Regions from separate parts of the Homo sapiens genome. Here region 1 is linked to region 2. Evidence: promoter capture Hi-C in human tissues and cell types (Jung and others, 2019). All regions are on one chromosome and are shown on one strand. Each heading gives the region's core, a stretch centred on a gene start or on the middle of the fragment in contact. The rest is flanking DNA. Distances are from core to core; before and after follow the strand shown. Region 1 overlaps MEI1 (meiotic double-stranded break formation protein 1). Region 2 holds the start of MEI1 (meiotic double-stranded break formation protein 1).

Region 1 (2,700 bases), core at 2-2,501, 58 kb before region 2:
TGCAGTACTGTCTCTGGCGAGCAGCTCCCTCCATGTACTGGCGATCAGACAGGAAGGCAAGGCTTTCAGGGCTCCTGCTGCTTATCTGGGGCAGCCCATGCTGCAGGAGCTCAGACACTGCAGAGAGTTCTAGGGAGGGAATAAGTAGAGGAAAGCCACACAGAGAACATAGAAGAACAGGTAATCAGCACATTAGTACCTACTACATGCAGAGTACTGCACAGGGCAGCAAGGGTAAATGCAGTATAGTGGGAAATAAGGAAATCAGAGGCTCCTCTTCCTTTGAGCAAGGTTCAACCTACCGGGAAAGACTAAACTTCACAAGCAGAAGGACATGGATATGTCTCAAAAATTAACGTTCATTCCTTTTTTGTTTTGTTTTTCTTTTGACAGAGTCTCGCTCTGTTGCCCATGCTGGAGTGCAATGGCATGATCTCGGCTCACTGCAACCTCCCCGTTCTGGGTTCAAGCAATTCTCCTGCCTCAGCCTCCCAAGTAGCTGTGATTACAGGCACCCACCACCACGCCCAGCTAATTTTTTGTATTTTTAGTAGAGGCAGGGTTTTGCCATGTTGGCCAGGCTGGTCTCAAACTCCTGACCTCAGGTGATTCACCCACCTTGGCCTCCCAAAAACATTCATTCTTTCATTCATTTGACATATGTTCATTGAGTGGCTACTACTCAGGACAGGCTGTGAGACCCAGGCCCTACCTCCAGGAACTGGCAGCTGATGGGAAGAGACACATAATGAGACAGGCAATTGCAGGACATGTGATCAGCGCTATATTGAGGAGGGAGTGACTCAGGCTGCCTGGCATGGGGAAGGAAAGGTCAAAGAGGAAGAAACTGTGGGCCAGGCTGTAATCCCAGCACTTTGGGAGGCTGAGGAGGGTATATCACCTGAGGTCAGGAGTTCAAGACCAGCTTGGCCAACATAGTGAAACCCCGTCCCTACAAAAATACAAAAATTAGCCGGCTATGATGGCGGGCGCCTGTAATCCCAGCTACTTGGGAGGCTGAGGTGGGAGAATCGCTTGAACCTGGGAGGCAGAGGTTGCAGTGAGCTGAGATGGCACCATTGCACTCCAGCCTGAATGACAAGCGCGAAACTCCATCTCAGAAAAAAGAAAGCAAGCTTTGGGAGGCCGAGGCTGGCGGATCACGAGGTCACGAGATCAAGACCATCCTGGCTAACACGGTGAAAACCCGTCTCTACTAAAAATACAAAAAAATAGCCAGGCGAGGTGGCGGGCCCCTGTAGTCCCAGCTACTTGGGAGGCTGAGGCAGGAGAATGGCGTGAACCCAGAAGGCGGAGCCTGCAGTGAGCCGAGATCATGTCACTGCACTCCAGCATGGGCGACAGAGCGAGACTCCGTCTCAAAAAAAGAAAGAAAGAAAGAAACAAACTGTGGAGGGTGAGGAGAAAAGAGGCAGCGACAGGAGAAAAGAGAAAAGGAAGCAAGGTGTTCAGAGGCCTGAAGGCATGAGAAGACATGCCATGTTTCCATTCAGTGTCACTGGATAGTCAGTGAATAGATGTGGGGTGTCAGAAGCTGGGGAACTATGTGATGTAATCTGCAGTTGGACTGTGAAAGACCTTTAAGCAAATGCCACTTAAGGAATTGGGACTTCATCCTGAGGGCAGAGACTTCTAGATTTCTTACGAAAACGGTTTCATAAAAGAAAGAATATTTTAATACCAAAAGAACAGGAAAGAAGGATAGGCGTGGTGGCTCAAGCCGGTAATGCCAGCACTTTGGGAAACCAAGGCAGGTGGATCACCTGAGGTCAGGAGTTCGAGACCAGCCTGGCCAACATGGCAAAACCCTGTCTCTATTAAAAATACAAAAATTAGACAAGCGTGGTGGCAAGTGCCTGTAGTCCTAGCTACTCAGGAAGCTGACGCAGGAGAATTGCTTGAACCCGGGAGGTGGAGGTTGCAATGAGCCGAGATCACGCCACTGCACTCCAGCCTGGGCAACAGAACAAGACGCTGTCCCAAAACAAAAAAAAAGGAAAGAAAAAGACTGACTTCAGAGTTTAAAATTTGAATAAAGGCCAGGTGCGGTGGCTCACACCTGTAATCCTAGCACTTTGGAGTCCAAGGCAGGTAGATTGTTTGAGGCCAGGAGTTCAAGACCAGCCTGGCCAACATGGCAAAACCCCATCTCTACTAAAAATACAAAAAAATCACCTGGGCATGGTGACATATGCTTGTAGTCCCAGCTATTCGTGAGGCTGAGACACAAGAATCACTTGAATCTGGGAGGTGGAGGTTGCAGTGAGCTGACATCACTCAACTCCAGCCTGGGCAACAGACTGAGACTCTGCCTCAAAAAACAAAACAAACAAAAAAACCTAAATAAAGTCAACTTTATCCTTATGTTCCACATTTCACCATGGACCAGAGAAAACTTCATCACTATTTGACACTACTCCACAGACTGATGTGTGGAGACCACAGCTGAAAGCCAGGGGAGTTAAGATGTTAAGACTTTGTTTTCAGATAATCCTTCCAGCAGTGAGTGGATGAGAGATTGAAAGACAGGACCTCAGTTGAAGGTCAACCGAAAGAATCCATCCTGCCAGGGCCAAGTCCTGGGCAAGCAGAGGGTGAGGATAGCGCATGTCCCACAGCAATTTGGTAGCAGAGCCAGGTCAGCTCTCCTAATTCCAAGTTCAGTGCTTGTCCACCAAA
Region 2 (2,700 bases), core at 124-2,623:
ACACTTTGGACTTTGGGAGGTCAAGGCAGGAGAATTGCTTGAGACTAGGAGTTCAAGACCAGCCTGGGCAACACAGGGAGACCCCCGGGACCGTTTCTACAAAAAAAAAAAAAAAAAAAAAAAAAATTGAGAACTGCTGATCTAGCCAATCCACCCACTCACGAATTCCCCTCCCATGAATTGGAGAGAAACTTGACCTCCCAAAGTCTTCTTGGATGCCTCCATGGACAAGAAAACTCACTGCAGGTCGGGCACCGTGGCTCACGCCTATAATCCCAGCACTATGGGAAGCCGAGGCGGGTGGATCACCTGAGGTCAAGAGTTCGAGACCAGCCTGGCCAACATGATGAAACTCCGTCTCTACTAAAAATAGAGAAATTAGCCGAGCGTGGTGGCGGGAGCCTGTAATCCCAGCTACTGGGTAGGTTGAGGCAGGAGAATCGCTTGAACCCAGGAAACAGAGGTTGCAGTGAGCGGAGATGGCGCCATTGCACTCCGGCCTGGGTGTCAGAGCGAGACTCCGTCTCGAAACAAACAAAACCACTTCATTGCAAACGCGGTAGGCAATGAGGACCCAGGCAGCCCGCTTTGGCCAGCTCTGCCCAAGGAACAGTCTTCCCGTTCACCCCCACTTCTGCCCGGCTGTAACCTGTCACTCCTGTCCCCTCGGAGCCCAGACTGCCCCTCCTCCGATTCACACCCCGACAGCTGAAGGGAATGAGGAGCGGCCGCCGCATGCGCCCCTGGCCCGCAGGTGAGTGGAGGCTGAAATGGCGGGAGGCTGAAATGGCGGGAGCCTGAGCTAAGGCCGAATCCCCGGGAAATGGAGGCAGGGGCAGCAAAGGGAAGGAGCCAGAAGGCGGAAGGCGGGAAGGTGTGTCCCTGAGACTGGGTGAGGTCCCGGGGGATCCGGATTTCCGTCCTTTCAGGCGCAGAGCCAGTGGACCGGGCTCCACGGAGGCCCGCAGGCCGGCCTGGGGCTGAGGGGCCCGAGAGGCCGCTGCGGCCGGGTCCGGGACGGGCTGACAGGGAGGAGAGTGAACACAGCGCGGGGGCCCGGTTTCGCGTCGGGTTCACCGGAGCGGGTCTGGCAAGGGCCTGGCCGCGTTTGCTGAGGGAAATGGCCAAACCCAGGTCTTCTGAAGAAAAGGTTCCGCCCGCACCGACACGCCGGGGTCCGGCAGCAGCTCCAGCGCGCAGGCCAGGCACAGGCGGGGGGTCACGGGCAGCAGCCAGCGCGGGTCGTGCCGGTAATGGGCCCTCTCGAATAGAAGCGCCGCCTCTTCCTCTCTCCTGGGCCCGGGAGTGCCCGCCGTCGCCGCCTGCCTCACAGCCATCTCCTCGCTTGCCCTCAGCTGAGGCGGCACTCTTTCCCGCGCAGACTGCACGCATGCGCACTTGGAGGACGGACCTGCGTCGGTGTGGAATGCGCCTGCGCGGACCCAGGGCGCTGCAGTCTCAGACGAGCAGCAGCCACTGAGGGCAAGTGGTGGACGCAAGTGCTCTGGATCGTGTCTAGCTAAGCCAAAAGCGGTTTGTGCTTAGAACCCTGCAGGAATGTCTTTACCACATCCAAAGTTGAAAAGCAATTATAAAGTAGGGGGCATTTGCCTTGAAAAAGGAAGGAAAGGAAGCTATTTCTACTGTTTTTTAAAAATGAAGGCCGGGCATGGTGGCTCACGCCTGTAATCCCAGCACTTTGGGAAGCCGAGGTGGGCGGATCACGAGATCTGGAGATCAAGACCATCTTACCCAACATGGTGAAACCCCGTCTCTACTAAAATACAAAAAATTAGCTGGGTGTGGTGGCAAGTGCCTGTAATCCCAGCTACTTGGGAGGCTTGAGGCAGGGGAATCACTTGAACCTGGGAGGCGGAGGTTGCAGTGAGCTGAGATTGTGCCACTGCACTCCAGCCTGGCGACAGAGCAAGACTCTATCTCAAAAAAAAAAAAAAAAAGGAAAATAAGCGATCCCAAGGATTCGCATCTAAAAGCAATTAGAGGCTGGGTGAGTTGGCTCATGCCTGTAATCACAGCACTTTGGGAGGGAGGCTGAGGCAGGAGAATCACTTGAACCTGGGAGGTGGAGGTTGCAGTGAGCCAAGATCGCACCACTGCACTCCAGCCTGGGTGACAGAGGAAGACTCCATCTTAAAAATAAATAAATAAATCAGAAGCTTAAGACCAAAAAATAAAAGTAAAAAAACAAAACAAAACACCAAAGACAGAGAGAAAGAAGTTCAAGACCAGCCTGAGCAACAGGGCGAAACCCCTCCTCTACTAAAAATACAAAAATTAGCTGGGTGTGGTGGCTCATGACTGTAATCCCAGCTACTCGGGAGGCTGAGGCAGCAGAATCGCTTGAACCCAGGAGGCGGAGGTTACAGTGAGCGGAGATCAAGCCACTGAACTCCAGCTTGGGCCACAGACCTACACTCCATCTCAAAAAAAAAAAAAAAAGCGTCCCATGCAGAGGACCACCCCTCCCCATAAGCAGCTGAGGCTTTTGGAGTGTCCTGCCTCAATCAGGATTAGCTTGGAGACAGAGCAGGATAGAACCTCAGTGGACTCCACTGTGAGGAGCTGGGGGGCAGGTGTTTCGGAGAGGACACTGGGTTGACCCACATTCCCTAAACCACAACCACAGAGTGGAAGGGGCTTCTACCCCACCCACAAAGTATCCCAAACCCCGAAAGGGGG

What was found. The method cuts DNA at HindIII sites, captures the fragments that hold promoters and counts their contacts. A contact is called where the count stands out against the background at its distance.
Region 1: a contact is called between a fragment that was not itself captured here and the fragment with the promoter of MEI1 in region 2, in 5 of the 25 tissues and cell types used here (dorsolateral prefrontal cortex, lymphoblastoid cells, mesenchymal stem cells and 2 more).

The regions. Positions count from the first base shown.
Region 1 is chr22:41,755,794-41,758,493 of GRCh38, reverse strand. It overlaps MEI1 (meiotic double-stranded break formation protein 1), which reads right to left. Exons shown (of 31, transcript NM_152513.4): 18 at 1-129. Among named protein-coding and RNA genes, the nearest start is that of CCDC134, 44 kb to the left of the region's middle. The HindIII fragment of the contact is 4,539 bases long and covers 1-2,700 here.
Region 2 is chr22:41,698,176-41,700,875 of GRCh38, reverse strand. MEI1 (meiotic double-stranded break formation protein 1) reads right to left here and starts at 1,373. Exons shown (of 31, transcript NM_152513.4): 1 at 1,164-1,373. The coding sequence starts at 1,337. RefSeq lists a silencer at 1,301-1,400. The HindIII fragment of the contact is 9,130 bases long and covers 1-2,485 here.